Linked DNA regions of Homo sapiens: regions 1, 2, 4 and 5 are each linked to region 3. The links are contacts of gene promoters, found by promoter capture Hi-C in blood cells and fetal thymus (Javierre and others, 2016). All regions are on one chromosome and are shown on one strand. Each heading gives the region's core, a stretch centred on a gene start or on the middle of the fragment in contact. The rest is flanking DNA. Distances are from core to core; before and after follow the strand shown. Region 1 overlaps ZCWPW1 (zinc finger CW-type and PWWP domain containing 1). Region 2 holds the start of AZGP1 (alpha-2-glycoprotein 1, zinc-binding). Region 3 holds the start of GAL3ST4 (galactose-3-O-sulfotransferase 4). Region 4 has its middle 17 kb from the start of AZGP1. Region 5 holds the start of PILRA (paired immunoglobin like type 2 receptor alpha).

Region 1 (5,364 bases), core at 2,119-4,618, 240 kb before region 3:
ATGTGAAGGGAGATGGGAAAGAGCGGAGGAAGAAAAAATTTGTAATATAAGATGAAGCATTCAGGTTTGGGTACATTTAGGTTTGAGATCCTTGTGAGACATCCAAATAGAGATGTCAAAGAGCAAGGCGGCTTAGGAATCTCGAGCTCAGAACAGAGGCTGTAAGTAGACAGCTGTGTTCTGTCAGGTATGAAAATAGATTTCAAAGCCATGGGAATGAGTGAGCTTGCCTCAGGAGAAAGTGTATCATGGGGAGAGAAGGCCCATGATTGGGCTTTGGGACCCCTGACATTTAGAGATTGAAGAACGAAGAGAACCCAGCAAAGGAGACTGAGGGGGAAGCTTGCCAGTAAAATCAGGGGGAGGGGGACAGGAGAATGAGACATCACAGAACCCAGGAAACTAGTGTTTCAAGAATGAGTGGTCAAGTGAAATCCTCTTAACATGTGTCTGTGACATCAGTCTTCATGATCATAGAGCCACATCCGGGCATCAAACACAGTTTTCCAGAGCACATTATCTTCTCCTTTAGGTTACTTGAACTTTTAAAAAAGTACAATGTTCTTGTCAAAAATATTATTCCAAGCCATAAATTTCCAGTTCCATATCATTATAGTGATTTTTTCCTACTCATTTTCTTATGAGTACTCACTGCTTTCACAGCTAACAATTTGTATTATTATTGATCTGTATTAATATATATGACTCCTGGCCTCTCCTCCTACTCTTTTTTTCTAGTCTTGCTAGCTCACCTCTGTAAACATCCAAAACTACTATTGGCAACTGTCATTTCAGACTAACATATTAGTCCCAACCAGTACTTTGTTCTTCAAGATAAGGTAATTGAGGCTGGGCATGGTGGCTCACCCCTGTAATCCCAGCACTTTGGCAGGCTGAGGAGGGTGGATCACTTGAGCCCAGGAGTTCAAGACCAGCCTGGGCAACATGGGGAAACCCTGCCTCTGTCAATAAATACAAAAAATTTTCTGGGTGTGGTGGTGCATGCCTGTAGTCTCAGCTACTTGGGAGGCTGAAGTGGGAGGATCACTGGAACCTGGGAAGTGGAGGCTGCAGTGACCCGAGATTGCGCCACCGCACTTGAGCCTGGGCAACAGAGCGAGACTGTGTTTCAAAAAAAAAAAAAAAGTAATTGCGAAAGTGATCCTTATATGTGATATTTTGAAAAGACCCAAATGCACGTCAACTTTTCTGAGGGATGATTCTGGAGGGATGGGATTAGGAGCCATCCTTTATGATCAGGTATTTAAGGTAAAATTTGGCAGTGGGAGAGAGTGAACTTACTGGAGAAATATGTTGGTTGATAAATAAATAGTGAATATATAGCGATACCTATGTGTCTGTTATGTGATTTTTCTCTGTCAACTCAATTGCTTGAGTGTAGGCTCAGAAAAGGTGGAGAGGGTTCATTCTGGTTGGTGTTTTGCCACCTGGGTGGGAAGAACGACAGTGGGAAAGGGAGCTGAAGGTGTCTACAAGAGAATCCAAGTAAATGTCAAGTAATCAAACCAGAGTGGAACAGAGTGAAGAATGAAAGTTGCTTCCAGATGGAGAGGATGGTAGTGGGCAGTGGGTTGGAGAGCTAGATAAAATGAAAGTTGCTATAGGAGTCTTTGAGCAAGTGAGGTGGAAGACGGGGCATTTTTGTAGATAGGATGTTTGGATGAGTGGCTCAGAGGGTGTGCAGTTCCTGCAGATGACTGGGTGGGGCATGCAGGAGTGGGAGTGGGTTCCAGAGGTGACATGAAGAAAAAAGTCAAGGGACTGAAATAATGGGGTGCTGTATGAGGAGTTCCTGTGGATGTAGAGGTCATTTGGAATGAAGGCAGGAGGTGGAGAGAAGACTGAATCAGATACCAGCATCTCTACAAGGGAGATGAGAGGTGAGGATAGTCCCATGGCATAGACCTCAAGGGAGGAAGTTTTTATAAGAGTTGGAGAGTAGTAGCAATGGGGCAATGATAATGCCAGCCTGACTTTCTGTCCCAAGAGACATGGGGAGTGTGAGAGGAACTGACTGCACTTACAGGGTTGTAGGTGGGGGTGGTTTAGGTGGGGCAGTGTCATTAGTGGGTCTCCAGGCTTCAGAAAGGAGATAGAAGTTCAGATTTGAGGTTGAGGATATGTGGACTTTTGTTGCTCGAGTCAATGGACTTTCCAAGACCACAATGGAAGAGTTTTGGTGGGAGAGAGGAGAGGCTGAGGGACATGGGTCAGCTTAGGAGAGGTGGGGGTCTGGAAGGTAATGGATAAAAGGAAGGCTTGGCCTTTGAGCAGGGCCCAGAGTTAATAGTTGATGGAGAAGTGATAGGCTTAGACCTGTGTCTTTTGGAGAAGAGTGAACTCAGACACTGTTGGTCCTAAAGTTTGCAACTTGGTGATTTGGTGACAGGTAAATCAGTTGAGATTTGGATAAGAACTCTGGATGTTGTGCACAAAAGAGATGCAGGTTAGCCCTTCAAAAGAACTTTTCAGTAGTGTCATGCCAGCAGAGAACAAGGCACTATCTGGAAAGATGCCAGGCAACCTTTCAATTTAAGAACTGTCAATACAAGAAACATTCCTTTCAGCCTTGGGGCAGGGAGACATGGTAGCCTAGTACAGGAAAAAGATCAAGGCATGAGACTTGAGTTCTAAGTTCAGCTCTATCGCCAAGTTAGCTAATCCTCAGCAAGCCAGTTACCTCTTTGAGCCTTGGTTTCCCTCTTATAAGTCAGGGATCGGGCTGGTTGATCTCTAATGTCTCTCTGGCTATGTCATTCTGGGAGTTGGGAGGGTTATCCTGATTTTAGTTGGATTAAAGAAGGAAGAGCATATTTTTAAGTCTCTTATTTCATTTTTTTCCTCTCACAGGTCAATGTCTGGTCTGGGTCCAGTGTTCCTTCCCAAACTGTGGGAAATGGAGGCGGCTGTGTGGGAACATTGACCCCTCAGTTCTCCCAGATAATTGGTCCTGTGATCAGAACACAGGTAGAAAAGACTGGAAATGTTTTCATTCATGTTTTATTGTTCCTCCCTTTCTTTCTCTGCACTTATCCTTTAGATTAAATACTACGTAAATATAGTTAGCACTCAGTGTCCTTGTAGTGCTTGGGAGAGAGGAAGGATCTGCCTCTCATATGGAGATGAATCTGGGCAGAAAAGGCTGGAGGAAGATGCCCTGTAAAGTGATCTTGTTGGGGAGGGGCCTGGAATCTAAATACATGAGCATTGGTCTGCCCCTGTCAATCCTGATTAAAATATTGGTATTGGGTTGGTGGATAGGGAGGGATATAGGATATATCGGGGAAAACAGACGAGAGAGATCTGGTGCGCTTAGAATTCTAGGCTGTTTGGAACTAGTTGGAAGAGATGATGATGATCTTGTCCAGCCCAATTATTTTACAGATGAGAAAACAGAGTCTCAGAGAAATTATTCTTATGGTGCTCCATAGACAGGAGCACAGTCAGACACGCGGGCATGCAAGCAGGAGTGTGGAATCTCTTCCTGGAGTATGAGGAGGCACCATTCCTACTGCCTCCAGCTGCATTTCAGCTGGTTCCAGCTGCATTTCAGCTGGTTCCAGCTGCATTTCCTCCATGGGTCTTTATTCTTCCTCTGTGCTGATCTCCCAGGTGCCCCTTTGGTCCCACCTGCTGCATATACCAATTTCCTTCTTGTTCTCTCCCCAGCTCTCATCCAGCTCTTTCTCTTAAAGAGTCTCTTCCTGTCCCTTCATTCCTTCTCTCTTTCAGCAGATGTGCAGTATAATCGCTGTGATATTCCTGAGGAGACCTGGACAGGGCTTGAGAGTGATGTGGCCTATGCCTCCTACATCCCAGGATCCATCATCTGGGCCAAGCAATACGGTTACCCCTGGTAGGGCATTATGACACAGTCAGAGCATCCTTCACAAACTTGGGAGAGGTAGATTCAAGCAGGGGTGGAAGCAAATGGAAAACATCTGTAATTGAAATGGTTCTGGCCTTAGAAAGAGCATGGGGTGAGAGAAAAGATAAAGTACCAAGCCTGGAGGCTTTGAAAGAGTGTATTTTCTGGAGGTTTCAGCATGGAGGTGATAGCTCCCTGGAAAAAAGGGTCTGATAGTGCTACCCCAACTGGTAGAAAGAAGAGGGTGGATCTGAGGCATTTAAAAATATTGAGATTGGCCAGGCGCAGTGGCTCACACCTGTAATCCCAGCACTTTGGGAGGCCAAGGCGGGCAGATCACCTGAGACCACAAGTTTGAGACCAGCCTGGCCAACATGGTGAAATCCCATCCCTACTAAAAATAGAAAAATTAGCCAGACGTGGTGGCGCGTGCCTGTAGTCCCAGCTACTCAGGACGCTGAGGCAGAAGAATCACTTGAATCCGGGAGGCAGAGGTTGCAGTGAACCAAGATTGCACCACTGCACTCCAGTCTGGGCGACAGAGTGAGTCCCCATCTCAAAAATAAATAAAAATATTGAGATTGAGAGAGACAAAGTAAAGGGAACAAGGAAAAGTGGGATAGTTTCTTCTTTGGAGATGTCTCTAGTCGAAGATTTTGTTCTTAGGATTGTGGATGGCTCAGAAGGGTAAGATACCTTCACTAGGTATATTCTGAGCTCCTGTGTGCATCGATGGAAGTCACTTTCTCACGAGTCATTCAGTAGTGACCACTAGAGGGGGATGATGGAAGGGGAATCTATTTTTTGGATCCTTTTTTTGCAAAGCATACTGCTGGCTGAGCGCAGTGACTCACGCTTGTAATCCCAGCACTTTGGGAGGTTGAGGTAGGAGGATTGCTTGAACCCAGGAGTTTGAGATCAGTCCTGGCTATATAGTGAGACCCCATCTCTGCAAAAAATAAAATAAACAGCTGGGTGTGGTGGCATGTGCCTGTAGTCCCAGCTCCTCAGGAGGCTGAGGTGGGAGGATCACTTGCGCCTGACAGATCAAAGCTGCAGTGAGCCATGGTTGTAACACTGCACTCCAGCCTGGGTGACAGAGTGAGACCTTGTCTCAGAAAAAAAATCATACTGCTCTTCTCTGTGCATGTACATTGATGAGGTTGTGTTCTGTTCATCTAACCCCTTCTCTTCTGTCCCCTACACCCAACTATCTTCTCCAGGTGGCCAGGCATGATAGAATCTGATCCTGACTTAGGGGAATATTTTCTTTTTACTTCCCATCTTGATTCCCTGCCGGTGAGTTTCCTGGTTCAGGGTAAGAAGGAGCTCAGGCCAAAGTAATGAACAAATCCATCCTCACAGACGTACAGATAAGAGACATGGACATAGCCAGCAGACACAAGTGAAAACAGACACTTAACTAGGATGACAAACACAGAGATAAGTGCTCACACATATAATAGAAACAAACT
Region 2 (5,343 bases), core at 1,537-4,036, 190 kb after region 3:
TGGTCACTTCTCACTATGTCCCCTCAGCTCCTATCTCTGTATGGCCTGGTTTTTCTTAGGTTATGATTATGCAGCGAAGATTATTATAATATTGGAATAAATTATAATATTGGAGGATTATTATAATATTATAATATTGGAATAATAAATTTGGAAAAAACTAATGATTAATGATATTGATATATAATCATATCTATGATCTAGATCTAGTATAACTCTTGTTGTTTTATATATTTTATTATACTGGAACAACTCATGCCCTCGGTCTCTTGGCTTGGCACCTGGATGGCTTGCCGCCCACATCTCCCCCCTTTTTATTAACTAGGATCGCCATCGCCATCATTGCTTGTCGTTGACTTCGGATTTGTTTTCGGACTCCTTGGAGGCATCTGCAGGCTAAAAGGAGACAACGTAAGCATACCAATATTAATAATGCCAGTGACAACAATGATCCTCCAAGGGGTTTGATCTATTTAAAGGGATTAAGATCAGATAATTGTTTAGTTATGCCTTCAAAAATGTCTGAGCCAGGAACAGTGGATAAATGAGCTTGTGAATCCTCGAAAATTTGCTCTTTAAGTTTTGAAATATCCAAGGTTAAGTTATCATCCCAGGCTTTTAAATGTCTTGAGACATTTTCCCAGCTATGTTGATATTTATTATAAGCATAAGGCATTATGCAATAATCAGAAGTATTCCAATCACTCTGTAATTGCATACGGTGTTCCAAATTCATATCTCCCAGCCAGATTACACTTTGGCGGAGATCATTAATTTGATTAGCTAATTTTTGATCAATTTGAGCCTGAGAATTCCAAAGTCTGGAGGAGTTTTTCTGCCATGCTTCAATTCAACATATTGAACGGTTTGAACAGAATTGTGGATGGCAACTCCAGCAGTTGCTGCTGTTGCAGTAACCGCAATTAGTCCTGCAATGATGGCAATAAGAGTAAAAATAAATCTCTTTGTTCTTTTGCGGATACCTTTAAGAACTTCATTGACTATGTGAATAGAGGGGGAAGACTCCCATGGACGATGTAAAGAAACTGGTATCCATACCCCCTCCCTAGCCCTTACCAAGAGAGTACTTGTAGTGGGATTAAAAGTAGCATCAATGCACGTGAACAGCTTACAGTTATCACATTCTATAGTTTGTGTATTGGGAATGATAATTATATTTCCAACCAACAGCATGTAAGGGGGTTTGACATAGCTCCTGATGGGTATCACCCGTTCAGATATGAGGGTGATGTTGAATGTGGGTGTTTTGGTATTAGTGTGAAGGAGTTGATAGGTAGTGTTCCATATCCTTATTCCTGTCATAGCTGCAGCTAATTTTCATAGTTGAGGATGTTCTGGGGTAACAAAGGGATGAATCATTTTTGGTCTAGGAGGAGTAATGCCTGCATCCATCCATTTAAATAGGTAAGGGGACACCCATTGTCTCAGCCTGTATGACTGCCATCCATCCTCTACATAATCTAACAAATAATTAAACTCTGAGCATGAGGTATTTTTGCTGGAGCAATCTTGCCAATAATGCCCTTTTGGAGCCCAATCAATAACAATACCTGCGGCTAGACTTTGGAGCACAACGGCCTTAGGAGCATTACAATTATTCCATAAAATTGAAGTCACTATAAAAGGTCCCTTTGTAGGTTTCTTTAACCAAAAGAGAGGCTGGGCACAGTTGCTCACACTAGTAAACCCAGCACTTTGGGAGACCGAGGCGGGCAGATCACGAGGTCAGGAGTTCAAAACCAGCTTGGCCAACATGGTGAAACCCCTGCCTCAGCTTCCTGAGTGCTGGGATTATAGGCATGTGCCACCACGCGCAGCTAATTCTTGTATTTTTTCAGTAGAGACGAGGTTTCATCATGTTGCCCAGGCTGGTCTCGAGTACCTGACCTCAACCTGAGGTGATCCAACCACCTCAGCCTCCCAAAGTGCTGGGATTACAAGCATGAGTCACCGCACCCGGGCCCCAGTCACTTTAGAATAGCATGTTGCTTTGTATTCGGAGGGTCTCTCTGCAAATAGCCCATCAACACTGAGCGTGCCTGGAAAGACCTGGTTTTCAAATAACTGGCTTCGTCTGTGTAAAACGAGTCTTGTTGTATGCATTAAAAATTATCTTGGCTGGGCGTGGTGGCTCACGCCTTTAATCCCAGCATTTTGGGAGGCTCGTTCTGTTGCCAGGGAGGCTGCAAAAGGAGGATGCGGCTATTTCTGCTTCCATCATGGAAGGCTGGGATTCCACAGGCACAGAAAGGAAGGAGGGAGAGATGGGAATGTGACTGTCCTCCAGACACAGCCTCTGGCAGGATCGGATGTGGGAGAGTGAGGGTCCCACCCCAGCTGGGGTCTACCCAGGTCCATGTCTTGGACATGTTGAGAGTTTTTCTGGAAGGCAGGGATACAGTGTGGTCCAAAAACACACAAATGCCCCTACTGGCCCAGGGGTTGTCACAATAGACTGGAAGGGTGACACATCCCAGGCGCTTGCCACCCATCACACGCACCTCCTACCCACTGGCATCCTTCCACCCCAGGCACACACAAAGCCTCAGTCCAGAGATCAACTCTGGACTCAGCTCTGAATTTGCATATCCTGTGTGTAGATTCATTCTTCATAACCTCTGCCCAGCCTAGCTTGTGTATCATTTTTTTTTCTCTATTAGGGGAGGAGCCCGTCCTGGCACTCCCATTGGCCTGTAGATTCACCTCCCCTGGGCAGGGCCCCAGGACCCAGGATAATATCTGTGCCTCCTGCCCAGAACCCTCCAAGCAGACACAATGGTAAGAATGGTGCCTGTCCTGCTGTCTCTGCTGCTGCTTCTGGGTCCTGCTGTCCCCCAGGAGAACCAAGATGGTGAGTGGGGAAAGCAAGGGATGGGTGCTGGAGAGGACTGGAAGGAGGTGAGGAACAGGACATGTGGCTGGGAGACAGGCTGGATGCAGCTGGGATACCCTGGCATACGGCAGGAATGGGTGCCCAAGGCTGTCAACTCCCTCAGCTCACACACTTCCAGGAGCATTCAGGGAGCCTCTGCGCTGGCCCGAAATAAGACCTTCAGGAATCTGAATCTAAAACCCCTAGTTTACAGTGAAAACAAAGACTCCAAAGACCAAGCGACCTGCTTGGGGTAGACAGTCAGGACGGAGTAGGAACCATATGCCTGGAGCTGCTTCTGCTCCTGTTCCTTCCCTCCTTCCGATGGCTGGGTACACCTGCCTGACGCTGAGGGAAAGAGAGAGCAGCCCCAAGGGGAAAGTGGGAAGGCAGGTTGGCTGGAGGGATGGTGCTAGAAGGAAACCCGTGCCCAAATCCCACACTCAGACACCACTGCAGTGGGTCTGGAAGGCGAGTGGCTGGAAGAGAAGAGAGTGGGAGCTCCGGGAGATCAAGAGTCACTCCTAGGATAAGGGAAGGAGGCTGTTTGTGGCATGAGAATGTGCAGGATAAAGACATGGAAGCGAATGGCTTCTCAGTTGTGTGAGTTTAAAATTCATGACATTTACAAATTGTCAGAAAAGGTGTTATATGTTTGTTATATAACAATCACTTTGGAATGTTAATCTGATTCTGTGCCAAAATCTGAATTACTCAGGGTTCTCCAGAGAAACAGAACTAATAGGTGGTACACATATACATATATATGTACGTACACATACATACATACACTGTATACACATGGATACACACACACATAGGAAGAGATTTACATATATGTATACAAAAGAGAGAGAGAGTAGAGATTTATTTTAAGAAATTGACTCACACTATTGGGAGGAGTAACAAGTCCTAAATCTTCAGAGCCGGCCAGCAGGCTGGAGACCCAGGGAAGAGTTGATGTCTTAGTCTTGATTCCAAGGGCAGACTGTAGGCAGAATTCTTTCCTCTTTAGGGGACATCTGAGGCTTTTTCTCTTAAGGCCTTCAACTGATTGGATGAAGCCCACCACTATGGAGAGTAATCCACTTTACTCAAGGTCTACTGATTTTTTTGTAAATTAAAAAAAAAACTGTGGGTGCATAGTATGTGTATATATTTATGGGGTACATGAGAGGTTTTGATTCAGGCATGCAATGTGAAATAATCACATCATCAAAAATGAGGTATCCATCCCTTCAAGCTTTTATCGTTTGTGTTACAGACAATCCAATTATACTTTTTTGGTTATTTTAGTTTTTAAAAGTATTTGATTATTTATTTATTTATTTATTTTTGAGACAGAGTCTCACTCTGTCACCCAGGCAGGAGTGCAGTGGCATGATCTCGGCTCACTGCAACCTCCGCCTCCCAGGTTCAAGCAATTTTCCTGCCTCAGTCTCCTGAGTAGCTAGGACTACAGGCACCTGCCACCACACCTGGCTAATTTTTTTGTATTTTTAGTAGAGACGGGTTTCATCATGTTGGCCAGGCTAGTCTTGATATCCTGACCTCGTGATCTGCCCGCCTTGGTCTCCCAAAGTGCCGGGATTACAGGTGTCAGCAACTGCGCCTGGCCTCTCTTTTGGTTATTTAAAAGTGTACAATTAAATTATGATTATTATTATTATTTTTGAGATGGATTCTTGTTCTGTCACCCAGGCTGGAGTGCAGTGGCGTGATCTTGGCTTACTGCAAACCTCCGCCTGTTGGGTTCAAGCAATTATCTTGCCTCGGGTGTACACTGCCACACACGGCTAACTTATGTATTTTTAATAGAGATAGGGTTTCACCATGTTGGCTAGACTGGTCTTGACCTCTTGACCTCAAGTGATCCACTCACTTCAGCCTCCCAGAGTGCTGGAATTACAGGCACGAGCCACCACACCTGGCCCCAGTTAAATTATTATTGACTATAGTCACCCTGTTGTGCTATCAAATAGTAGGTCTTATTCATTCTTCTTTTTTTTTTTTTTTTTGTGACAGAGTTGCCCAGGCTGGAATGCAGTGGTGCAATCTTGGCTCACTGCAACCTCTGCCTCCCGGGCTTAAGCGATTCTCCTGCCTCAGCCTTCTGAGTCGCTGGGACTACAGGTGTGTGCCACCACGCCCGGCTAATTTATGTATTTTTAGTAGAGATGGGGTTTCACCATGTTGGCCAGGCTGGTTTCGAACTCCTGACCTCAAGTGACCCACCTGCCTCAGCTTCCCAAAGTGTTGGAATTACAGGCATGAGCCACCACACCTGGCCCCAGTTAAATTATTATTCACTGGAGTCACTTTGTTGTGCTATCAAATAGTTTTCTAACTATTTTTTTTGTACCCATTAACCACCCTCCCAATTTCCCCCCAACCCTGCCACTACCCTTCCCAGCCTTTGGTAACCATCCTTCTACTCTCTATGTCCATGA
Region 3 (5,072 bases), core at 69-2,568:
CCCCAACAGAGAAAATGAGGAGTTTAGAGTTGCAGCTGGGGAAGGGGTTTGAAGGAAGTTGGAAGTGGGGAGGGGTGGGGGCATCTGGTCTCAGAAATGGACCAGCTGGATGCAGGGCAGGGGACTGAGGGTGCTTGAGTAGGATGTGAGACTTCATGGGCCTGGGTTCTGTTGAGTTTTTTCAGTATCAATTTCTTAAACCAAATTTTAAAAAAAACAAGGTGGGGGGGTGCTCATCTCGTGACCTCTGCCACCCACATCCTTCACAAACTCCATGTTTCAGTGTTTGAGTCCATGTTTATTCTGCAAATAAATGGTAATGTATTGGACCCCATGTGTGGCTTCTGTGCTGTCACCATCAGTGCCTGAGCCCTGGCTCCTAGCAGAGGTCTCAGAGCCTCTGTGACTGGCTCATTTTCTGCCGGCTTTTCACTTCCCTTGGCACCTGTCCCCCAGGAGGCGGGCCTAGACAATAACCTCTGATCTCCAAATTGCCCACCCTCTGGGCCTCTGAGCATCTTCGTTTGTACAACAGGGAGAATTGTGGGGACCAAATAGAATCTGTGTGAAAAAGCACCTTGTCACCTGCAAAATGCTCTTTGAACATGAGGCTTTTTTTTTTTTTTTTTTGAGATAGAGTCTCGCTGTTGTCGCGAGGCTGGAGTGCAATGGCGCGATCTCAGTTCACTGCAACCTCCGCCTCCCCAGTTCAAATGATTCTCCTGCCTCAGCCTCCTGAGTAGCTGGGATTACAGGCGCCTGCCACCACAGTCAGCTAATTTTTGTATTTTTAGTAGAGACGGGGTTTCACCATGTTGGCCAGGCTGATCGCAAACTCCTGACCTCAAGCGATCCACCAGCCTTAGCCTCCCAAAGTGCTGGGATTACAGGCGTGAGCCACCGCACCCGGCCACGAAGCATTATTAAGGTGACCACACCACTGCCCCCTGCCTTCAGGATGGGAGGCCTTGTTCTCTGAGTGTCAGTCTCTGGCTACCTTGCCACGTCCTTGACAATGTCTGCTTTCAAATATCACTTTCTCCTTCCTTCCTTCTTTCTTTCCACCGCCTGAATGAATCTTTTGTTCTGCGGCAAGCCAAGAGAAAATGGTAGGATTGATTCCCAAGTGTGAAAGCGGGGGCGGAAGTGGTGTCTTCCAAGAGGAGTCTGGGTGCCCTGCCGAAGAGGGGAAGATGCAGCGAGGGAGAGACCTAGAACCGCGATCAAAGCTGCAGCAGCTGCTGGGGCTGGCGGCACAAAGGGAGGAGGGAGGAGCCTGGGCGCTGAGAAAGTTCTTGGGGAAAGTTGAGCTGAGCCAAGAGTCGGGCGGTGGCTGGGATGGGCGGGAGGGCCCGGCCCGATTTCCCTTGCTGCTCCCCTTGTGGCCTGGTGAGTGGGAAGTGAAACCAAGGATAGGACCAGTGGAGGGACCCTCTAATTTATGGGAGGAGACATGAGGGGTTCATGGAACCCCAGCGGGGGCAACTGGGCAGTCACCAAAGCTGGAGGGGACAGAGGGCTGGGATCTCCAATCATGGGAAGGGAGAGATGGATGGAAGGAAATGAAGAACTCTGGATAGGGGAGACGCGGCTAGACCCCAGGGGCTGTGATCAGGGAGGGAATTGGGGAGTGATGCCAGAGAGGGCAGGTCTCCGGGAGTAAAAGTGTGGCTTCTCTCTGCTTGGGGTTACCCCTGGCTCATCGGAGCAGGGAGCTGTCGGGGCTTGTTGGAGGGGCCGTGGTCCCTGATCGCGAGTTGTAATCTGAAGGGGCGGGGCTGGACTCCCGGTTGATTAGGAAGCTCGGGCTTCAGAAGGAACTCTGCAGTTAGTGTTTGCGCCTTTCTCCTTATCTTTGTGTCATAGTCTCTCTGTCCCTCTGTCTCTCTCTCTCTGTTTCTCTGTGTGTGTGTGTGTGTGTGTGTGTGTCTCTCTCTCTTTCTGTCTCCCTCTCCAGCCCCACCCTTTCAGTCTCCTCCGGGTGCACTGATAAGGTTGGAAAGTGGAATGGTGGGTAAGTCCAGGGATCTGGGCTTTATAAGTAGCCACACGTCTCCCCCAGCCCCTGTCATACATGGGGGTCTGCCCCGTGCTGAGACAGAGAAAAAAGAGGCGCGGGAATTTATAACCCAATGGCTCTTACCCATTGCAATGCCACTCCTGGAAGTCCAACCTCCCTTCCTCCTGCCTGGGTTCATACACCTGTGTCCTGTCTGATCCTCATTCCCACTGTATGGCTTCCCTTCCTGGTCCTGGGATAGGGCTCTTTATCCCCATCTGTGACAGCCAGAGGGGCTCTGGAGGAAACCAGGTTCCCGACCATGGTCTGACCTGACTGTGTTAATGAGCTGATTGATCTGATCTCTCTCTCTCTTGCTGGCTGTTTCATTCACGAGCTGGGGCTTTTTCTCTCCTTCCCTTATAAATCCCCAAGGCTCAGGGACAACTGTAGGTGGGGAGCGGGAGGAACTGGAGATAAGAAAGTGATAGAGCAGAGACAGTAGTTGTGGGGCCACCTAGGAGAGTCTGGGTATAGACAACATCCCCAGCCACTCCCCTTCCCTGAAGGAGGTCTCAGCTGCAGCAGGAGAGAAGGCTGCCTCTGCCTCTCTCCTTAGACTTCCCTTCTTCCCCCCTCATTTCCCTTCTAGACGCTGACAGAGGCAAAAATCTGCTAACTCAGGGGGCAGACTCAACCAAGACTGTGAGCAGGCCTGGGGAATGACCCCCCGATCTCCAACCAGTGCCTTCCGCAGCTGCACGGCTGTCTCCAGCTGTCTCTGCCCCTCTTCCTGGCCCTGGCTCCATCTCTCTGTCACCTCACCCTTCCCTGTGCCACATGGGCCCTCTCTCTCCTGCCAGGACGCTGCGGCTCTGGGGACCTCGGAGCCTGGGGGTGGCTCTGGGAGTCTTCATGACCATTGGCTTTGCACTCCAGCTCTTGGGAGGGCCCTTCCAGAGGAGGTGAGTTCCCACTTTGCCCCAACTCCTTCTAGACGCCCCGTACTTGCTCTTCCCCATCCCACCTGGGGCTGGTGACTCCTGAGGACTCAGAAGCCTCCATGCCCTCTGTCCCTTCTACCCATTTGCTGCTGAGGAACAGGACACTCCCCCTCCATCTCTTCCCAGGCTACCTGGGCTACAGCTCCGACAGCCCTCGGCCCCATCCCTACGACCAGCCCTTCCGTCCTGCCCACCCCGGCAGCGACTGGTGTTCCTGAAGACACATAAATCCGGGAGCAGCTCTGTGCTGAGCCTGCTTCACCGCTATGGGGACCAGCACGGGCTGCGCTTCGCCCTCCCTGCCCGCTACCAGTTTGGCTACCCAAAGCTCTTCCAGGCCTCTAGGGTAAAAGGCTACCGCCCACAGGGTGGAGGCACCCAGCTCCCCTTCCACATCCTCTGTCACCACATGAGGTTCAACCTGAAAGAGGTAAGGAGTGTCGCAGTGGTGGGAGGGACCAGAAACAGATGGGCTCAGGCTGACACCACCAAGGGAGGGGGCCCAGACCTGGGGGCTCCCCAGGCATCATCTCACCCTAAAGTTGGACATAGGGGCCACAAAGTTGGGCTCCCTGCCATCCTCTCTACAGGTGTCCCTTCCCCAGTAGTTTCTGGGAGCCCAAGTCCTCCTCCCTTCTCTCTCTGGCGCTTACTCCAGTCTCTCTCTTTCACCAATGTATTTCCCTGGCATCAGTGCCTTGCCAACTCTGAGCCCCCAACTCTCCCTCCAGGTGCCCCTTACTCTTCTGTTTTTAAATTATTTTTTGGAAGACAGGGTCTTACTCTGTCGCCCAGGCTGGAGTGCAGTGGCACAATCATAGCTCACTGCAGCCTTGACTTCCCAGGCTCAAGTGATCCTCCCACCTCAGCCTCCTGAGTAGCTATGGCTAAGGCATGTGCCACTACACGTGGCTACTTTTTAATTTTTTGTAGAGATGGGGTCTTGCTATGTTGCCCAGGCTGATCTCAAACCCCTGGGCTTAAATAAATAAATAAATAGTCCTGGGCTCAAGTGATCTGCTCACCTTGACCTCCCAAAGGGTTGGGATTACAGGAGTGAGCTTGCCCAGCCTGTGTGTGTGTGTGTGTGTGTGTGTGTGTGTGTGTGTGTGAGACAGGGTCTCATTCTGTCATCCAGGCTGGAATGCAGTGGTACAATTATAGCTCACTGTAACCTCAAACTCCTGGGCTCAAGCGATCCTCTCACCTCAGCCTCCCAACTAGCTGGGACTACAGGTGCATGCCACCACACCTGGCTATTTTTTTATTTTATTTTTTGTAGAGATGGAGTCTCACTATGTTGCCCAGGCTGGCCTCAAATGATCCTCCCACCTCAGCCTGGCAAGTACCTAGGACAACACGCCCCTTCCCTTTCTTAGCCTCCCTTTCACTGTCACACCAGGGCCCCACCTCCCCCACTGCCTTCTGACTTGTCTTCTTCAACCCCCTCACATTTTGAGGATCAGCTGTATTTTTAGCCCGGGACTAAGCCCAGCACTTTGGGAGACCAAGGTGGGCAGATCACCTGAGGTCAGAAGTTCGAGACCAGCCTGGCCAACATGGTGAAACCCTGTCTCTACTAAAAATACAAAAATTAGCCAGGCGTGGTGGCACACGCCTGTAATCCCAGCTACTCGGGAGGCTGAGGCAGGAGAATTGCTTGAACCCAGGAGGCAGAGGTTGCAGTGAGCCGAGATTGTGCCACTGCACTCCAGCCTGGGCAACAGAGCGAGACTCCATTTCACAAAAGAAAAAAAAGGCCGGGCGCAGTGGCTCACGCCTGTAATCCCAGCACTTTGGGAGGCCAAGGCGGGTGGATCACAAGGTCAGGAGATCGAGACCATCCTGGCTAACACAGTGAAACCCCGTTTCTACTAAAAATACAAAAAATTAGCCGGGCATGGTGGTGGGTGCCCGTAGTCCCAGCTACTCAGGAGGCTGAGGCAGGAAAATGGCATGAACCTGGGAGGCGGAGCTTGCAGTGAGCTGAGATCGTGCCACTGCACTCCAGCCTGGGTGACACAGTGAGACTCTGTCTCAAAAAAAAAAAAAAAAGGAAAGAAAGATAA
Region 4 (4,975 bases), core at 1,330-3,829, 180 kb after region 3:
TGGATGAAGAGGAAAAACAAATCCATAAGGTCATGGGGATAATGAGTTATTTGAAATCAGAAAGAGTGATTAACATGGAGGCGGGGCGCAGTGGCTCATGCCTGTAATCCCAGCGCTTTGGGAGGCTGAGGCAGGCGGATTGCCTGAGGTCAGAAGTTCGAGACCAGTCTGGCCAACATGGTGAAACCCCATCTCTACTAAAAATACAAAAAAATTAGCCGGGCGTGGTGGTGTGCACCTGTAATCTCAGCTACTCGGGAGGCTGAGACAGGGGAATTGCTTGAACCAGGGAGGTGGAGGTTGCAGTGAGCCGAGATTTCGCCACTACACTCCAGCCTGGGCAACAGGGCGAGACTCCATCTCAAAAAAAAAAAAAAAAAAAAAAAAAAAGCAAACCAAACCAAAGCACACAAACAAATAAACAAACAAAAAACATAAGGCAATTCTCTACAGGTGTTTTACTGCTAGAAGATCATGCTCCTCATTTCCTAAAGACTCACAGAGAACAGAAGACTGGTTGCATGAGAAGTGAATAACAAGAGGTTATAGTGCTTATTTGGGTTGGGGGCAAACATGACATTTCAATATTAACTTGTTTATTTATTTATTTTTCGGTTATACATCATTGCTGGTATATGTACTTTATTTTATTTTTTAGAGATGGGGGGTCTCGCTATGTTGACCAGGCTGGTCTCGAACTCCTGGCATCAAGCCATCCACCCATCTTGGCCTCCCAAAGTGTTGGTATTACAGGTGTGAGCCGCTGTGCCCAGGCTAACTCGTTTTTTTTCTTTGGTCCAGCAAGGCTTGTGAATGTGTCTGGGAACGACGTAAAATCTGGCTTGAAAAAAAAACTCTCAACTCAAAGCTCCAAGACAGAGCTGAGATGCTTTTGAAGGAGACAGCCTCATTGGTCTCCTTGTCGGAGAGGCCCCAACTTATCAGTAAATATTGGTTAACATCTATCATCTGGTGGGACTAAGCATGGAACCAATTGCCCTTGCACAGAAGGCCACGTATTGTAGTATTCAACATAGATGGAATGACCAGGAAAGGCAAAACCACAGATATAAAAAGTAGATTAAGGCCAGGCGCGGTGGCTCACCCCTGTAATCCTAGCACGTTGGGAGGCCAAGATGGGCGGATCACCCACCAGCCTGGTCTATATGGTGAAACCCCGTCTCTACTAAAAATACAAAAATTAGCCGGGCATGTTGGTGCGCGCCTGTAATCCCAGCTACTCGGCAGACTGAGGCAGGAGAATCGCTTGAACCCAGGAGGCGGGAGGCGGAGGTTACAGTGAGCCGAGATGGCACCACTGCACTCCAGCCTGGCGACGGAGCAAGAAAAAAAAAATAAATAAAAAATTGCTAAGATTGTTATTAAATCCGCTGGGAGAGTCTTTCATCATGTTAGCAGGATCATTGTGTCCTCTGGTGGCAATAACACGCGACTGCAACTGACTTGCCTGTGCAGAAAAATCTTTCCTGAATCCTGAAAGCTGCATTCTGTTCTATTAGCTTAAGAAGGAAATCTGACACTGATCCGCACGGTGTGTTTTATGATCCTGCACATAAAGATTAGGTGCTCAAGGATGCAGAGGAGCCCACTGCTCCCAGAGCAGGTGCCTGAGCCTAGGAGGCATCTGACCAGAGTCTCTGTCGCCCAAGCTGGAGTGCAGTGGTGCGATCTCGGCTCACTGCAACCTCTGCCTCCAGGGTTCAAGCGATTCTCCTGTCTCAGCCTCCCAAGTAGTTGGGATTATAGGCACGCACCACCATGCATGCCTGTAATTTTTTGTATTTTTAGTAGAGACGGGGTTTCACCATGTTGGCCAGACTGGTCTCAGACACTTGACCTCAGGTGATCTGCCCGCCTCGACCCCCAGAGGGCTGATATTACAGCGTGAGCCACCGTGCCTGGCCGAACGACAGGATTTCAAGCCTGAACTCGAGAGGTAGCCCAGACTGGGGATCTGCACTGGGAAGTCATCCGCAAGGACGTGGTGGCTGGAGCTATAGACAAAGGGAAAGTTATCCAGGGAGAGTGAGGGTGTGGAATGGGGAGAGAGAGGGCCCGCAACACAGTCCTAAGGAACACCAGCACTTTTTTTTTTTTTTTTTTTTTTTGAGACGGAGTCACCCAGGCTGGAGTGCAGTGGCATGATCTCGGCTCTTTGCAACCTCCACCTCCCAGGTTCAAGCAATTCTCCTGCCTCAGCCTCTCAAGTAGCTGGGATTACAGACGCCCACCACCATGCCCAGAATTTTTGTAGTTTTAGTAGACACGGGTTTCACCATGTTGGCCTGGCTGGTCTTGAACTCCTGACCTCAAGTGATCCACCTGCCTAGGCCTCCCAAAATGCTGGGATTACAGGCATGAGCCACCGTGTCTGGCCCAGTTATCGCTTTCTGAGAGAGGAGTTTCTCCAAAGTTTTCAGTTTGACATAATCAATATAACCATCCTGCGTATTAGGGGATGGCTGGTTCTTCACTCCTTCAGCATCTTTGGTTAACCGGTACCTCGACTTGGCCATATCCACAGGTGGGGGAGGTCAGGAGATGTCACCCCTAGTCACTGGGGCTGTGGGGAACATGGTCTCTGAAATGGAACAAGGCTGACCAGGCCGATGGATGGCTCACAGTGTCTGCTGGAGGTTCCTTTTGCTGCTCAGGGCCAGGGCGTGGCTGGAGGAAGAGGCCCCACCCAGGAAGTTCCGCAGGGGCTTACACAGTCTTCCCAGACCCAGAAGCACAATCTCCAAAAGAGTGAACAAGAGACGGAACCCACTGACCCCAAACATGGCTTTTAGAAAGATGATCTTCTCCGAGGGGTGGGAAAAGGTGCAAGTTAATCTATACGGGCAAGGCTCTTGGCCACATGCAAAGGAGCTGGGCATCTGGAACCCATACAGGTGGTACTGCAACCCCGGCGCTGTCCCCTCCAGGACCAGCTGAGCTCCCAGCTGAGCCACATAAGCTCAGAGCAGCCTGAGGCTTCCAGCCCCTGGGGTATCTCTGCTGCTCTCCCCTCCCTGGATCAGGGTGTCCTCTTCCTCCGTCCCCTTTCATGATTCTTCCCAGTGCCAGATCACGTGATACAGAGTGAAACCCATGTAGAGGACGCTAGGTACAGCCACCAAGATGACCTGGAAGACCCAGAAACGCAGCGGGGAGAGCGGGTGGAAGGCATCGAAGCAGGCAGCCTTGCAGCCCGGCTGCTGGGTGTGACACACGAATTCACTCTGCTCATCGCCATAGACTCCAGGCCCACTGGCAGCCAGCAGCACAAGGCGGAATCCCAGGAGCACGGGAAACAGGAGGCGCCCCACGGGGGTGGAGTGCCAGCTCTCCTCCGCCAGCAGCCACCACCTCAGGAACCTGCCACACATCCTGTTAGGGAGTTTTAAAAAAAGATTATTACACGTTATTGATTTTTTGTTTTTAAAGACCTCTGTTGCCCAGGCTGGAGTACAATGGTGTGATCATAGCTCACTGCAGCTTCCAACTGTTGGGCTCAAGCAATCGTCCTGCCTCGGCTTCCTGAGTAGCTGGGACTACAGGTGCATGACACCACGCCCAGCTAAGTTTTAATGTTTTTATAGATATGGGGTCTTGCTATGTTTCCCAGTCTGGTCTCAAACTCCTGACTTCAAGCAATCCTCCTGCCTCGGCCTCCCAAAGTGCTGGGATTACAGGTGTGAACCATTGCACCAGGTTATGAGTGATTTATTTTTTATTTTTTGAGACAGAGTCTTGCTCTGTCGCCTAGGGTGTAGTGTAGTGTCGCGATCTCTGCTCACTGCAACCTCTGCCTCCCGGCTTCAAGAGATTTTCCTGCCTCAGCCTTCTGAGTAGCTGGGATTATAGGCGTGCACCACCACAGCTGGCTAATTTTGTGTATTTTTAGTAGAGATGGGGTTTCACCATGTTGGCCAGGCTGGTCTTGAACTCCTGACCTCAGGTGATCCACCTGCCTTGGCCTCCCAAAGTGTTGGAATTACAGGCGTGAGCCACTGTGCCGGGCCATGTATTGATTTATGACTTTGCCTGTAACTTCTGCTTCTCTGCCTCTAAAAACCCTTACCTACAAGCCATTGGGGAATTTAGGTCTTACACTTGAGCTGGCTGATTCTCCTTGCTTGGCACCCTGCAATAAATGCCTCAGTTTCTCTCACTGGAATCCACATGTCAGTGTTTGCAGCACCCGGTGGTTGGACCCAAGTTCGATGAGGTAACAGACGTCCACTGGGTGTGCTGTAATCCCGCGGAGGTTTTCCTCCATAATAAAAGGCAGGAATTGGCTGGGCGCCGTGGTTCATGCCTGTAATCCCAGCACTTTGGGAGGTCGAGGCGAGTGGATCATCTGAGGTCAGGAGTTGGAGACCAGCCTGGCCAACATGATGAAACCCCGTCTCTACTAAAAATACAAAAAATTAGCTGGGTGTGGTGGCGGGCGCCTGTAATCTCAGCTACATGGGAGGCTGAAGCAGGAGAATCGCTTGAACCCAGGAGTTGGAAGTTGCAGTGAGCCGAGATCGCGCCACTGCACTCCAGCCTGGGCAACAAGAGTGAAATTCCCTCTTAAAAAAAAAAAAGACGGCGAGAATTGTGTGAGTTGTGCGAGGAAGACCGGATGACCGTTATCTCATGGCCTTTGCATCCAGGCTTTGAGCCAAATTCTCAAGGACTGGATCCTAACACTTGGCTGCAACTATTTCCTTGACCACTAGGGGGCAGGCAAAAGCCATAGCGAATCCGGCCTAGCGCTGATTGGAACCTGCTTGAGAAAAAGACCTCTTTGTTTAAGCCGGCGGTCCCCAATCTCTTTGGCACTAGGGACCGGCTCCGTAGAAGACAGTTTTTCCACGGACTGGGGAGGGGAATGGTTTTGGGATGATTCCAGTGCATCCCGTTTATTGTGCACTTTATTTCTATTATTATTACATCGTAATATATAATGAAATAATTCTAC
Region 5 (5,270 bases), core at 527-3,026, 200 kb before region 3:
TCTGGGTGGTCCTGGGTACTCACTAGGCTGCAGAAATGCTGGCGGCAGCAGCAAGGGCAGTAGGGGCAGCAGCAGGGGCCGACCCATGGCCTTGTTCTTCTCCAGGGGACGGGGAGACCAGCAGAGCCGTCCAGGCAGGAGAGGGGCCCTGTGGAGGGGCCGCCTGGGGGTTGAGGTGAGTGAGGAGAGCCGGGCTCAGGCTCCGAAGAGGGCTGTGGGGGCCAGGAGCCTTCCCCAAACCAGTGCACCTCCAGGGTGACCAGCACTTCCTTTATCCATCTGGCTTATTTTCCCCTATTGCAAAAGGGCCTCCCTTGTGGTCAGTGCCAAGTCAGCCCTGCCCAAAGGCCGCGGTCCCCGTCCTCCTGCCGAGGGGCTGGGCCTGACCTTGGGGGGCTGGGCCTGACCTTGGCTGGCTGGGCCCCTCCCACCTGGATCCCTGCAGACCCCACCTCACTCAGCCTCACTTCTCATCCTTCTCTCTGCCCAGGGCCAGCGCAGGCTCTTTCAGGGAGAGGAAAGGCAGGCCTGAATCTCTGTCCTTCTGCGCCCCAGATTCAGTCCTCAGAGAGGAGGAGAAGGAAGCCGGTGGAGGTCACAGGTGCTCAGCCCCCAGCCCAAGCAGAAGAGCCCCCAGCTTGTCCTCTGTCCCTCTCCCTCCCTGGCAGGGGCTCCCATGCAGTCCCCAGGCACCACCACGACCCAGCTGGCCTCTTCCTGCCCCAGGCCCTCTCTCGGTGCAGGCACCACGACCTTGCTCAAGGGGTGAGGGGGCTAATGGTCCCCTACACAGAGACTGGTCCTTCTGGAAGCCACCCCTTGACCCCCAAGACATGAGACTGGGTCTGCAGGCTCCCCTCTGACGTCCCGCCCTACACAGGAGGGGACAGGGCTCTGAGAAGCCCTGCCCCAGGCCACGTGACTTGCAGTAGTGGGTACAGGACTGGAGCCCCCTCAACCCAGATGTCTGGGCCTGGCTGAAGGGTGGAATCTCTGGGCCTCAACTTCTGAGTGCAGGACAGGAGGCTGTCCCTTCATACAGCCCCTCAGGTCATTCCCTCCACACACCTGAGCCCTTGGCTGATCCAGAAGCTTCCTTGGACACAGAAGAAAGTGAAGGCTCAGAGCAACACCCACCCCACACACAGTCCTGGGCCCATCTCTAACGGGGATCTGCCGGCCTTTGCCCGGGGGTGGTCACTGGAGCAGGGAGCTTTGGTGGTGCACAGGGCTCCCTCCGTAGGAGGCTCTGCCCACCCTCTCCAGGGTGAGGTGGCATCAGTTGAGGGGCCGTGGGGGAAGACAGGATTTCATCAGAGGAAGTGACATCAGCCTTCTTGAGACAGAAGCAGGCAGGGACGGGCCTCCCTTCTCTTAGTCTCTTCCCTGGTCCTAGTAGGCTCCTCTGTGCTTCCCAGGGCCAGCCAGGCCGGCCCGCCCTCCCTCCCTTTACAGGCCTGAGGAAACAGGTTCCCCATGCTCAGGAAACCCCTCCGTCTGAGCCAGGCCCTAAACACCTCATTCTCTGCTTCACAACATTCTGAGGTGACACATTATCTCCATTCAACCCACAGGGAAACTGAGGGACGGGGGCTTTGGGCTGAACTGGTCACAGCTGGAAAGATGGGCTGCAGAGAGGACAAGGGACCCCCTGGCTGTCTGGGCAGGGCCTCGAGAGGGTGGCCCGCCCCACCTGAGGACCTGGCTGAAAGGTCACCTGCTTACCAGGCTGTCCAATGTGGGGGCCACATAGAACTTATAGCCAACAGCCTCTGGGTAGCTCTGGAGGGCACATGCTGCCCAATGCTGCCACGTGCAGTCTCCTTAGATGCAACATGCATGTTTATGTCACTTTCAGGCCCTGGATCCAGCTGAACCCCCATGGGAGATTCCTTCTGTGTCAGGATTTCTGCTCTGGGATGGTGTGAGGTCTCCTGGATTTGTTCATCCTCCCTCCCCCAACAGCAGTGACAGAACCTGGGACTGAGCCTGGGGCTGTGGCTCTCTCACAGACAGGGCTTCTGAGAGGAGGAGGAGGGCCTGGAGGAGGGCATGATTCCAATGTGGGCAGAGCCTAAATGCAGCCCCTTAGTGCAGGTGCTCATGGGAGAGGCGTGGGAAGTCGTGTGTGGGGAGCAGGGGCAGGGAGGGGGTAAGTACCCTGCACCGCATTATGAGAACCACTGCTTGGATGTCCCCACATTCCCCCAACAAGTATCCTACTGTCCTCACTGGCCACATCCGTCCCTGCCCCCAGCCCCTCACCTCTCCTTGGCACCCACCGTTCCTGCTTTCCTCTGATCCCAATCGACATCCCATAGGCTTTGTGGAGTTCACAAGCCAACTGTAATATTCTCACAGTAATTCAAAGGACCTAGAATAGCCAAAAGGCCTTTACAAATGAAGAATGAAGGTGGAAGATTTATAATACCTGACTTCAAGACTTGCTGTAAAGCTTCTGTAATCAGGCTGTACTGTCCTCAAGGTACTAGAGTGTCCACAGACTGGAGTGTAGGGACGCGATCACCATCACTCCTGGGCTGAAGCAATTTGCTGACCTCAGCCTCCCAAGTAGTGAAGACCACAGGCACACACCACCACACACGGCTAATTTTTTTTTTTTTTTGAGAGATGGGGTCTCACTATGTTGTCTAGGCTGGTCTCAAGTTCCTGGGCTTAAGCAATCCTCCTGCCTCGGCCTCCCTCAGTGCTGGGATGACAGGTGTGAGCCACCTCACCAAGCCCCACTGGATTGCTGATATTCTGGCATCTTGGACCTCCAAGAGCAGAGAGAGGGACTGCCCCTGCCAGAGCCAGCCAGTTGTTAGAGCTAGCAAATGACCCCTCTGAGAGTGTCCCTTTTTTTTTCTGAAACAGTCTCACTCTGCTGCCAGGCTGGAGTGCAGTGGCACGGTCTCGGCTCACTGCAACCTCCACCCCTGGGTTCAAGCGATTCTCCTGCCTCAGCCTCCCAAGTTGCTGGGATTACAAGTGCGTGCCACCATGCCCAACTAATTTTTGTATTTTTAATAGAGACGGGGTTTCACCACGTTGGCCAAGATGGTCTCCATCTCCTGACCTTGTGATCTGCCCACCTCGGCCTCCCAAAGTGCTGGGATTACAGGCTTGAGCCACGGCTCCTGGCTGAGTGTGCCTTTCATATGCAAACCAGCTAATCCAGGGCCCCAACACTGAACCAGCTCTTCTAGCTGCCTCTCACCCTTCAGAAGGCAGTATTTCTCTGCCTTCATCATCCTGGGCCAGACACCAAATAACAAATGACAGCCTCTAATCCCCAGAGCCTGCTAACGTTATTCTAACTAGCCAATCCTAAACCTGCATACCCTTCCTTGCCTTTTCCAGGGAAAGCATAACAAAGGGTCTCACCCCTGTGTTCCCTTGGCTTCCTCTACTCCCTGAGGGACCCTGGTGCTTTCCCAAGTGGCCCTGCATGGCTGTGTCTCTCGTTTCTGGGGATCTGTGAGGATACACTGCTTCCCTTATGACCCTCATTTCCATGGCCATACCTGATGGAAAGAAATGGCAGGTGCATTTTGTTTTATTATTATTATTATTTTGAGACGGAGTCTCACTCTGTCGCCCAGGCTGCAGTGCAGTGGCACCATCTCGGCTCACTGCAACCTCTGCCTCCCAGGTTCAAGCGATTCTCCTGCCTCAGCCTCCCGAGTAACTGGGACTACAGGTGCCCACCACTATGCTCACCTAATTTTTGTAGTTTTAGCAGAGATGGGGTTTCACCATGTTGGCCAGGCTGGTCTTGAACTCCTTACCTCAGGTGATCCACCTGCCTAGGCCTCCCAAAGTTGCTGAGATTACAGGCATGAACCACCGCGCCCTGCCAGCAGGTGCATTTGATTTATTTTTATTTTTTGAGACGGAGTCTCGCTCTGTCACCCAGGCTGGAGTGCAATGGTACAATCTCGGCTCACTGCAACTTCCACTTCCTGAGTTCAAGTGATTCTCCTGCCTCAGCCTCCTGAGTAGCTGGGATTACAGGCACGTGCCACCATGCCCGCCCGGCTACTTTTTGTATTTTTAGTAGAGATGGAGCTTTGCTATGTTGTTCAGGCTGGTCTCGACCTCCTGACCTTGTGATCTGCCTGCCTCAGCCTCCCAAAGTGCTGGGATTACAGGTGTGAGACACTGTGCCTGGCCCAGCAGGCGCATTTTAAAAGAGCTTTTAACTCTCTGGACAATCCCAGGAGGTAGGCAGCATCTCTGTATGGTCCTCAATTTATACAGAAAGAAACGGAGGCCCTGAGGGTGGTTCTGAGCCTAGCCTGAGGTCACATGGCCCAGGAACGTCCACTGTGGCATCAGGTCTGAGCTTGGGGCCTGTGCGGCCAACCACTTCCCCATTCAGTGACATCAGCCAGCAGTCCTCTGGGCCTCTGTGACAACCATGCTTCCCTTTTCTGTGTTGTCTTCCTTCTGCACAGGGAGGTGCTTGAGGGCTGGGGCACTGGCTGGTGTAGCTTTGGGTCCTTGTCACCCAGTGCAGTGTGCCTGTCACCCAGGGCAGTTAGTGCTGACCAAATGCGTATGGAGAGGGTGGAGGCATCTTCAAGGGGTGGGGATCAGGTGACGATCATTTTCAGTAGAGATGGGGTTTCACCGTATTGGCCAGGTTTTTTGTTTTGTCTTTTTTTTTTGAGACAGGCTCTCTCTCTGTCACCCAGGCTGGAGTACAGTGGTGCAATCACAACTCACTGCAGCCTCAGTTGCCACCTGAGGGCTCAATTGATTCTCCCACCTCAGCCTCAAAATGTGCTGGGATTACAGTCATGAGCCACTGTGCCTGGCCCAATCATGCCTTTATAATGAAGCCCATAAAAACCCAAAAGGGATGCAGAGGGCTTCTGGATAACTGAACTCATGGAGCTTCCTAGAGGGTGCAGTGCCTAGAGAAGACACGGAAGCTTTGCACCCCTTCCCCCAGGCCTCCCTCTGTGTATCTCTTATATCTGGCTGTTCATAACTATCCTTTGTAATATCCTATATCTTTATTTTGAGACGGGGTCTCGCTATGTTGCCCAGGTTGGTCTCAAACTCCTGTGCTCAAGTGAACCTCCCCCCTCAACCTCCTGAAGCACAGAGATTACAGGCATGAGCCATGGCGCCAGGCCCTATAATATCCTTTATAAGGGGACACATGTAAGTAAAGGGCTTCCCTGAGTTCTAGGTACCATTCTAGAAAATTAATTGAACCCAAGGAGGGGATCATGGGAACCTCAATTTTTATAGCCCTG

Evidence for each region. The method cuts DNA at HindIII sites, captures the fragments that hold promoters and counts their contacts. A CHiCAGO score of 5 or more calls a contact.
Region 1: a contact is called between a fragment that was not itself captured here and the fragment with the promoter of GAL3ST4 in region 3, in 13 of 17 cell types (naive B cells, activated CD4 T cells, total B cells and 10 more). The highest score is 13.2, in naive B cells.
Region 2: the fragment with the promoter of AZGP1 here is called in contact with the fragment with the promoter of GAL3ST4 in region 3 in 13 of 17 cell types (neutrophils, total CD4 T cells, naive CD8 T cells and 10 more); the score reaches 14.9 in neutrophils.
Region 4: a fragment that was not itself captured here is called in contact with the fragment with the promoter of GAL3ST4 in region 3 in 2 of 17 cell types (naive CD4 T cells and naive CD8 T cells); the score reaches 6.0 in naive CD4 T cells.
Region 5: a fragment that was not itself captured here is called in contact with the fragment with the promoter of GAL3ST4 in region 3 in 14 of 17 cell types (total B cells, naive B cells, activated CD4 T cells and 11 more); the score reaches 13.7 in total B cells.

The regions. Positions count from the first base shown.
Region 1 is chr7:100,407,052-100,412,415 of GRCh38, reverse strand. ZCWPW1 (zinc finger CW-type and PWWP domain containing 1) reads left to right here. Exons shown (of 18, transcript NM_001386010.1): 9 at 2,872-2,988; 10 at 3,757-3,877; 11 at 5,113-5,188. Among named protein-coding and RNA genes, the nearest start is that of ZCWPW1, 19 kb to the left of the region's middle. The HindIII fragment of the contact is 6,048 bases long and covers 345-5,364 here.
Region 2 is chr7:99,973,474-99,978,816 of GRCh38, reverse strand. AZGP1 (alpha-2-glycoprotein 1, zinc-binding) reads left to right here and starts at 2,786. Exons shown (of 4, transcript NM_001185.4): 1 at 2,786-2,872. The coding sequence starts at 2,797. The HindIII fragment of the contact is 13,516 bases long and covers 1-4,138 here.
Region 3 is chr7:100,164,863-100,169,934 of GRCh38, reverse strand. It overlaps GAL3ST4 (galactose-3-O-sulfotransferase 4), which reads left to right and starts at 1,318. Exons shown (of 4, transcript NM_024637.5): 1 at 1,318-1,389; 2 at 2,652-2,964; 3 at 3,130-3,433. The coding sequence starts at 2,840. It overlaps GPC2 (glypican 2), which reads left to right. Exons shown (of 10, transcript NM_152742.3): 10 at 1-329. The HindIII fragment of the contact is 24,826 bases long and covers 1-5,072 here.
Region 4 is chr7:99,990,814-99,995,788 of GRCh38, reverse strand. It overlaps the pseudogene LOC100128334. Among named protein-coding and RNA genes, the nearest start is that of AZGP1, 17 kb to the right of the region's middle. RefSeq lists an enhancer at 1,212-1,713. The HindIII fragment of the contact is 5,341 bases long and covers 1-4,975 here.
Region 5 is chr7:100,368,474-100,373,743 of GRCh38, reverse strand. PILRA (paired immunoglobin like type 2 receptor alpha) reads right to left here and starts at 257. Exons shown (of 7, transcript NM_013439.3): 1 at 24-257. The coding sequence starts at 87. RefSeq lists an enhancer at 2,589-3,340. The HindIII fragment of the contact is 1,363 bases long and covers 1,095-2,457 here.